Regions from separate parts of the Homo sapiens genome. Here regions 2 and 3 are each linked to region 1. The links are contacts of gene promoters, found by promoter capture Hi-C in human tissues and cell types (Jung and others, 2019). All regions are on one chromosome and are shown on one strand. The core of a region is centred on a gene start or on the middle of the fragment in contact, and the rest is flanking DNA. Distances in the headings are between cores, read along the strand shown. Region 1 holds the start of LSG1 (large 60S subunit nuclear export GTPase 1). Region 2 overlaps ACAP2 (ArfGAP with coiled-coil, ankyrin repeat and PH domains 2). Region 3 holds the start of APOD (apolipoprotein D).

What was found. Contacts are between HindIII fragments. The study calls those that stand out against the background at their distance.
Region 2: a contact is called between a fragment that was not itself captured here and the fragment with the promoter of LSG1 in region 1, in 2 of the 25 tissues and cell types used here (dorsolateral prefrontal cortex and hippocampus).
Region 3: the fragment with the promoter of APOD here is called in contact with the fragment with the promoter of LSG1 in region 1 in 4 of the 25 tissues and cell types used here (dorsolateral prefrontal cortex, hippocampus, mesenchymal stem cells and 1 more).

What each region holds. Positions count from the first base shown.
Region 1 is chr3:194,670,590-194,673,587 of GRCh38, reverse strand. LSG1 (large 60S subunit nuclear export GTPase 1) reads left to right here and starts at 1,397. Exons shown (of 14, transcript NM_018385.3): 1 at 1,397-1,524. The coding sequence starts at 1,426. The HindIII fragment of the contact is 4,871 bases long and covers 1-1,559 here.
Region 2 is chr3:195,437,554-195,440,641 of GRCh38, reverse strand. The region is part of intron 1 of ACAP2 (ArfGAP with coiled-coil, ankyrin repeat and PH domains 2); the gene reads left to right. Among named protein-coding and RNA genes, the nearest start is that of ACAP2, 3.9 kb to the left of the region's middle. The HindIII fragment of the contact is 4,179 bases long and covers 1-3,088 here.
Region 3 is chr3:195,582,630-195,585,754 of GRCh38, reverse strand. APOD (apolipoprotein D) reads left to right here and starts at 1,815. Exons shown (of 5, transcript NM_001647.4): 1 at 1,815-1,877. RefSeq lists an enhancer at 2,195-2,364. The HindIII fragment of the contact is 4,834 bases long and covers 1-2,295 here.

The DNA of each region.
Region 1 (2,998 bases), core at 148-2,647:
TACGTTGTACCGCATAATGTTTTGATATATGTGTACATTGTGGAATGGCTAAATCAAGCTATGCTAGGTAATATATGCATTACCTCGATCCTATGATTTAAAAATACATGTTTGGCCAGGCGCAGTGGCTCATACCTGTAATCCTAGCACTTTGGGAGGCCGAGGCGGGCGATCACCTGAGGTCAGGAGTTCGAGACCAGCCTGGCCAAAATAGTCAAACCCTGTCTCTACTAAAAATACAAAAATTAGCTGGGTGCGGTGGCACGTGTCTGTAATTCCCGCTACTCGGGAGGCTAAGGCAGGAGAATCACTTGAACCCGGGAAGCAGAGGTTGCAGTGAGCCGAGATCATGCCTTTGCACTCCACCTGGGGGACAGCGAGACTCTGTCTCAAAAGATAAAAATAAATAAATAATACATGTTAACAACCCTCATTCCCCACTCTCCCCAGGGGTGTACAGGCTAGTGACAAGACTTGGGTTTATTCCTGACACTGCACGCACTCAATCTACGACTTGCTCAAGCTGCTTCCTCTCTCCAAGCATCAAAACAAAGAGATGGTTCTCTGGATCAATGAGAATGTAGTTCACCAGCCACTCTAAGCTGACTTTCTATTATTCCCATTATAGGGAAATCAAACATTCAAGTGAGGAACAAAAGCCCAGGCCTCTAGGAGTGGAGCTGGCTCACTGTTTTCACTTTCATTTTAATTATTTTTAAAAAGGGTAATGAAAATATAATTAGAACTGTTTAAACATTTTTTTTTTCTTTGAAATAAAGCGTAAGTCACTTCCTGTTGGCTTTTCCTACAACCTTGCCAAGCTCTGGAAATACTATTCAGCCTCTCATTCCAAATTCACATCCAGGCGAAGACTTTTCTCCCCAGTTCGCAGCTGGGGTCGGCTAGATAAACAAAAAGTTAGTTGCTGTGCTGGACCTCGGAGAGACCACACCTCGGGACGCCAGCAGAAAACCAGCGCTGGGAAACGCCCCCGTCCCAGCGCCACCGAAACACTCTTCCTCCGAGTCTCCGCGTCCTCCTGACGGAAGCAGCGGAAGGCGGAGCTAGTGCCGCGAATAGGAACCGCCATGTTTCCGACGTGCTCTAGTTTCTCGCCGGACGCTAAAGACCGACGCACAAATTAAGAATGGACCATTCTTTTAACTCAGTCATTTATCCAAACTCGAGACATTCGCCAGGAAATCTATCGAAAATTTCCCAGAACCATTTTTTCACTTATATTCTATAATACTGGTAAAATCGAGACGTAAAAGGAGAACTTGAGAACAAGTCATTCTGCTTTCCCCTCTCAAGTTTGAGCCTGAACTACTTGGGCTCGCTTATCGTCACTTCCGGGGATCGAACTGTGAATCCCGGAAACTGCACGCGCCGAGCCGGGAAGCTTCGTCCAGCGGTCGTGTTGCCATGGGCCGGAGGAGAGCCCCGGCCGGTGGGTCGCTGGGACGGGCCCTTATGCGCCATCAGACTCAGCGGAGCCGAAGCCATCGTCACACTGACTCCTGGGTAAGACAGACCATGTCATCTTTCTTATCTTTTCTGTCTAGCCTGAGTGCTGCAAAATTCGGGGTCAAAAGTCAGATAAGTTTTGCAGGAGGGACGCCTCAGCCGGGTTTTGAAGGATGAGTTGGAGTTTCTGCCAAGCTGAGTAGCAGGCCCTCCTCCTGGCAAGGCCCAGAACACAAAGGTAGGAGAAGCTTGAAAGAAGAGTTAGTGTGGTGATGAGGCGTGGAGTGAGAATCTGAAGAGTCTTCAATGCCAGGTCTTGAGTACGTTTGGGTTTTGCCCTAGAAGCCACTGAAGTGCTTGGAACTTCCAGAGCAGGAAAAAGACAAAACGTATTTTTGTATTGATTTGTTCAAAGAATGGATCCTCCAGAAGCGGTTGGTTACTGCCAGAAATATAAAATAATTCAGATCCTTGCCTCATCCTTGCGAAGCACCCCCTAGTGGTTTAGCTCAAAGATAAATCATTGATTTTTCAGGTGTGACAAGACCTAATATTTTACTAGGTTATAGAAGGATCTTTAAAAAAATGAATGAAGTGATTTGGCTTGTGTTCATCATTCTAGTCGTTATTTTCACCATTCATTCCCCCGGGAATGAATGAGAACATGTTGAGTGCTAAGATCGTGTGCTAAATTTAGTTAAATATGTCCCTGGAGCTAAGTAAGCGTGTGCCACTGTCACACCAGCTGACTTTCATCCATATAGTCTGCAGAGTAAACAGCATGGAGTGCTTATCAGTATTCATCAGGTCAGAGTTACTCTGGACATTAGATTACTGGTAATTTTTATTAGCTTTGAAGCAACTTGTTACTAATGAAGCCTTTTAGGAAACTGTGGGAAGATTGAACATGAATGGTAAAGAATTGGATCCTAATTCCTTATTTTTGCTGATTCTATGCCCACTTAAACTTTTGGCCCTTAATATTTATTTAGGAAATTCATTCATCATTCAGTTATTCATTTTTAGAGACAGGGTCACACTCTGTCACCCAGGCTAGAGTGCCAGTGGTGTGATCATAACTCACCAATTCACTACAGTCTCAAACTTCTGGGCACAAATAATCCCCCTGCCTCAGTCTCTTGAGTAGCTGGCATTACAGGTGCACACCATCAGGCCTGGTTGTTTGGTTTTGTTTGTTTGTTTTGGAGAGACAGGGTCTTGCTGTGTTGCCCAAGCTGATCACAAACTCCTGGCCTCAAGCAATCCTCCTGCCTTAGCCTCTTGAGGAGCTGGGGTTACAGGCACAAACCACCACGCCTGGCAATTTTTTTTTATTTGTATCTATACTAAGTATATAGCTTAGGGTGATGGTTATCAAACTCTGGGTTGTGTCTGGAAGTCAATTTAGTGGTCTGCAGCTAGCTGTTTTGTTTTGTTTTTATTTTTTCCCCAGCAAGATAGAGAAATATCAGAATGTTGCATGTAATAGGGTGTGGTTTCAGTATTCTTCTATTGCCATTTTACTGTACTG
Region 2 (3,088 bases), core at 338-2,837, 770 kb before region 1:
GTGTATGTTGAGTGATAGTGAAACTTGTATCAAAATAAAAAGCTTGTGAGGCCTGGGCTTGTTTTTTGGTAGTAAGGCAGCTGCACTTGTGTCCTGATCTATTGGGCTGTCTTTAAATTAATACGTGTCTTTATTCATAAATGAATCTTGTGGCATTTAAGTCTAGTGTGTGCACATAACTGTCTTGGTGCTGTAGAATTAATGCAAAAGGCACATCTTGCTGATGAAAATTTCACCACTGTTCAAGCTTTAAACATCTATTTTCCTGTTAAATCAATGAGGAGAATACAAGGGGACTGGTTGAAATAGGGAGAAGGATGTTGCATTTGCAACATTGTCTTTTGTAATTTGAATAGTCAATGGTTACTTTTACATCCCAGTGAACATTTTTTTTTTGTTTTGGATTGGAGGGCACATTTCGTTGTATAATTTTGGGTTCCCTTTTTGGTTTTTTAAATACCAGTTTAAAATCAGCTTAAAGGTCAAAATCTTGTTCATCTAAAATCTAAAAACCTTGTTCATCTAAAAATCTACAGGAATGTAAAGTGCCTAAGTATACTTTTTTTTGAGTGGAAATTTTGCATTTTGGCCAAAATATGTTGAAGTTGGAATTTGTTTGGGCCCTTAATTGTATGTAGTTGCATGTAGTAGGTCTTTAAAATTTTACAAAACCTCCGTAAAAGTACTGCTTTTCTTTTACTTAAACATACTCTTGGGCTGAACACTGTGGCTCACATCTGTAATCCCAGCACTTTGGGAGGTGGAGGACGGCGGATCACTTAAGGTCAGGAGTTTGACACCAGCCTGGCCAACATGGTAAAACCCCATCTCTACTAAAAATACAAAAATTAGCCGGGTGTGGTAGTGTGCACCTGTAATCCCAGCTACTTGGGAGACTGAGGCATGAGAACTGCTTGAACCTGGGAGGCAGAGGCTGTAGTGAGCTGAGGTTGTGCCACTGTACTCCAGCCTGGGCAACAGAGCGAGACTGTCTCAAAAACAAAAAAAACAAAAAAAACAAAAAAACCCAAAATGTATTCTGTTTTACTTAGGAAGTGAATATCTATTTGAAATAAAAAGTAGAATAAATAAATTGAATAAATAAACATCTTTCTGAATTATGAAAGATTTTTGTCAGCAGTGTTCAAGTATAAAAATATTGTGGCCAGGTGCAGTGGTTCATGCCTGTAATCCCAGCAGTTTGGAAGGCTGAGACAAGAGGATCGCTTGAGGCCAGGAGTTTGAGACCAGCCTGGGCAACAAAGTGAGACACCGTCTCTACAAAAATAAAAAAATTAGTTGGGCATGGTGGCGTGCATCTGTGATTCCAGCTACATGGGAAGCTGAGGCAGGAGGTCAAGGCTGCAGTGAGTTATGTTCACACCTCTGCACTCCAGCCTGGGCAACAGAGCTAGACTCTCTCTCTCTCTCTTAAAAAAAAAAAAAAAAAGGCCTTAGCCTTGGTATGCTTTAGTTTTTATCTGATAATTTATTTTTATCCTTTAACAATGTCTATCATACACCATCCTGCAGGTTTTTCATTTTTAGATTCTATTTCAGATATGATTCTTTTTTTTTTTGAGATAGAGTTCTGCTCTTGTTGCCCAAGCTGGAGTGCAATGGCACGATGTCGGCTCACTGCACCCTCCGGCTCTTGGGTTCAAGCAGTTCTCCTGCCTCAGCCTCCCGAGTAACTGGGATTATAGGCGTGCACCTCCACGCCTGGCTAATTTTTTGTATTTTTAGTAGAAACGGAGTTTCACCATGTTAGCCAGGCTGGTCTCGAACTCCTGACCTCAGGTGATCCGCCCGCCTCAGCCTCCCAAAGTGCTGGGATTACAGGCATAAGCCACCATGCCCGGCTAGATACGATTCTTGTTCAGTAACTTAGAATAACTTTTTTTTTAAAAAGGGTGTTTGTGGGTGAATTATGTTTGAGAGACAGAGTCTTACTTGTTATCCAGGCTGTTCTCCAACTCCTGGACTCAGGTGATTCTCCTGCCGCAGCCTCCTGAGTAGCTGGGATTACAGGTATGAGTCACCATGCCCAGTCAGGTGAAAGGTTTTAATGGGCGAAAGACATTGGAATAAAATGTGACTACTAAATACACCTCAGTTATGTGTTGCTATTAAGTCTGGATTGGTGCCAATCTTGTCTCCTTCCTTTGCCTTCCATCTTTATAATAAACTTTTAGCAACTGCCTGTTAATACAGTGGGTAAGGGCTGAGGGGAAATTTTTTTTTTTTTTAATCTCAGAAGCAGTAGAATGGAATTATAAAGTAATTTTATTATGAACCAAAATACAGGAATCCTGACTGGGTGTGGTGGCTCAAACCTGTAATCCTAGCACTTTGGGAGGCTGAGGTGGGCAGATCAGTTGAGGTCAGGAGTTCGAAACCAGCCTGGCCAGCATGGTGAAACACCATCTCTACTAAAAATACAAAAAAATTAGGTGGGCGTGATGGTGGGCACCTGTAATCCCAGCTACTCGGGAGGCTGAGGCAGGAGAATTGCTTGAACCTGGGAGGCAGAGGTTGCAGTGAGCTGAGATTGCGCCACTGCACTCCAGCCTGGGGGACAGAGTGAGACTCCATCTCAAAAAAAAAAAAAAGAAAATTCTTGCAGGTGGGGCGCAATGGCTTACATTTGTAATCCCAGCACTTTGTGAGGTCGAGGTGGAAGGATTGCCTGAGACCAGCCTGGGCAACATAGAGACCTTGTCTCTAATTTTAATGAAAAAAAAAAAAAAAAAAAAGCATGTAAAGTAGGACTTATCCTCATTTTAAAAATGTGGGTTTTTTTTTGCTTTTTTTTTTTTTTTTTTTTGAGACAGAGTCTCACACTGTCGCCCAGGCTGGAGTGCAGTGGTGCAATCTCCACTCACTGCAACCTCCACCTCCCTGGTTCAGGTGATTCTCCTGCCTCAGCCTCCCGAGTAGCTGGGATTACAGGCGCCTGCCACCACACCTGGCTAATTTTTTATATTTTTAGTAGAGACGGGGTTTCACTATGTTGGCCAGGCTGGTCTTGAACTCCTGACCTTGTGATCCACCAGCTTCGGCCTCCCAAAATGCTGGGATTGCAGGT
Region 3 (3,125 bases), core at 566-3,065, 910 kb before region 1:
GTGACTCCTAGACCTGGACCTTCAGCTCCATGGTTGCCGACTTCAGTGCTGAGGGCTAAAATACATAGATATCTCCAACTCCAACATACATATTTGGAAACTTAGGCAACAGTGCTTTGTGGAAAACTGTGCAACTGCTTAGAGGAGAGAGAATTTTTTGTAATAGGCTGAAAAGAGGCTAACTGTGTATTTCTTCAATGACAGGCAATTCTTGGTGGCAAATGTGATACAGGTGAAGAAGACAGAAACATACAGGCTAGTGCTTCTCCAGAAATACAATTGAAATCAAAATCGCGTGAATATTACCTCTGGGGCCTTTTGTATATCTTAGAAACTCATTAAGTTCTTTGGATAGCATCCATTTAATTTATAAGTATTTACTGAGCACTTAGTATGTGCTTAGCCACTGGGGCACAACACAGAGTCAAAGAGACAAACTCCTGGCACGCCTCAAGCTCCTATCCTCCTGGGGAAAACATACTAAGCAGGATAATGTATAAATAAAGGAGAGAATTTCAGGTAAAGATATAATGAAGCAGGGAAAGGGACAGTGACAAGAGTGCTATTTTTGAAAGGTCAGGAAGCTTTTTAGGGAAAAGTGTCATCTGATCAGGGACCTGGAGTGGGGAAGGGAGCTACACAGAGCTCTTAGGGGAGGGCAGCACAGGAGGTCAGCGAGAGGCAGGCCCTGGGTGGTAGTAGGAATTTCTTATGTTTCTGAAAAGGCAAAGAACATCTTAAAGAAAGCGCTCACAACGTTTGGGATGTTACGGATCTGTGTTGTTGTTTTCATGTTTATAGACTCAGTGCTGTAAATGTATCTCTGTTGCTTACATATTTTAGAATGAATTTCATTTAGGAGTCTAAGTCTACTACGAAGGCACTGCCTTATCTAAATGTCTCTAAACATACCTCCTGCCTATCACAAAGACATAGAATCTCACTCACAAGAGTCAAAGTTGTTCATTCCACCAGGAGAGATAAGGCTGGACCAAAAGCACCCCTGGGTTTAAGTCCACACTCCCCACCACCCCGGCCCCCACCCCCAAGCAGTGACAGACTGTCTTGAACTTCTCGCTGCAAGGGTCATAAAAGGGACAGAGAACAGAGCGACAGAAGATGTCTTCTGCATTCTCAACTTTTAGCCCCAGTTGTTAGAGAACTGGTATCTCCCCTACACGTCTGGCTCTGGTGGAGAAAGAATGACAGCCCCTACTTACAACGAGGAGACTGTGGCTCAGAGAAGTTAGGGGGCTGCCCAGGATCCTGGAGAAAGCCAGCTTTGACTCATAACCCTCGCGCCATTACCTGACTCCCATTAGTGGAGTCAGGAACTCCATGTTCCACTTCAGGAAATGAGCTTGTTGATTTTTCATTTACACAAAAATGAAAAATAAATACCAGATGTTTGAAAACATGTTGCAACACGTCCTGCTGGAACTTAAAAGTGCATTCTGACCAAAAAAATTAAATTAGAAAATCCACATAGCAAAAAAAAAAATGTTTTGGATGAAAATATACTTTATCTTTCTCTCACACATACTCTCTCTCTCTCTCGCACACATACCCACACACACACACACACACACACACGCGCGCGCGAAAACAATATCTCATTTCTTCTTCAGGGAGCAGCTGTGAAGGAAATCGGGGGAGGAGGATGGACACAACATCCCATCTTTGTGTTTCGATACAGACTAAGCTTTTAGGCCAACCCTCCTGACTGGATGGGGGCGGCGGGCGTGGCATGCATGAAAAGTAAACATCAGAGACCTGAAGAAGCTTATAAAATAGCTTGGGAGAGGCCAGTCACCAAGACAGGCATCTCAAATCGGCTGATTCTGCATCTGGAAACTGCCTTCATCTTGAAAGAAAAGGTATGTACTGTAGTTTTAAGCTTTTCATTTATGATAATAATGTCTAAAATAGAAACAGTCTAGACTCTCCATTGCCCCATTTCAGCTACATATAACTACCACTGATTGAGAGCTTGTGCCGGTAGCTTTAGACTTGTTCTCATTTTTCCTCAAACAAATGTACAAGGTAGGTATCATCAGAGCCATTTTTCCAGTGATAAAGCTGAGGTTCAGATACACTAGCAACATGCCTAAGATAAAACCAAACCCAGTGTGAACTCATCCCAGCGTCTTTTGCTTACCCCTCCAAACTGGACAACGAGGTGTTTCCATGCACAAACACCGTCCTAGGTGAATTCTCAGCAAGCTGTCCAACGGTGCATCGCAGTAAAATAATCTGGAAACTGGAATTAATGGTGTGACTAGAAAATGCATTTGACAATATGGCATAAAATATTGTGTTTGGGAGATACGTGTCTTGTTATATTTAATGGCTAAATGAGTCTTTGAGACCTAATGACTTATTGGAACCTATTTTATTTTATGAGGTGAAATTTCAAAATCTAGTCCTTCACGTTCTGCAGATCTTTGAGGTCAGGGGCTGTGTCCCCAGGCACTAAGAGCGCGGGCTTGTGGGAGACCTAGGCTTACATTCTAGCCTGTCCCCAGGCCTAGGCTTACACTGTGGCTTCGTAGTTTACCAGGAAGTAACCCGGGCAAATTCACCTCGTTGGTATGAAGAGAGTGTCAGCAGAGGTCGCCTCCAGAGGAGGTGCTGTGGAGACTGAGCGCATAGCACCCTTAAAATCCTGGGACCAGGGCTTCTCCACGGGTAAGCTTAATGCAAGTGGAGCAGTGATTTCCAGCTAGTGCCAGGCCCAAGGTGGATGCACTGTCACCTTAGTTGGATTGCTTTTTAATTACCTCATATTCTGTTAAAAATCATATTTCTTTTTTTTTTTTTTTGAGACGGAGTCTCACTCTGTCACCCAGGCTGGAGTGCAGTGGCGCGATCTCGGCTCACTACAGCCTCCGCCTCCCAGGTTCAAGCCATTCTTGTGCCTCAGCCTCCCAAGTAGCTGGGATTACAGGACTGCACCACCATGCCCAGCTAATTTTTGTATTTTTTGTTTGTTTGTTTTTGTTTTGTTTTTTTGAGATGGAGTTTTTGCTCTGTTGCCCAAGCTAGAGTGCAATGGTGTGATCTTGGCTTACTGCAACCTCTGCCTCCCATGTTCAAGCAATTATCCTGCATCAGCCTCCCGAGTA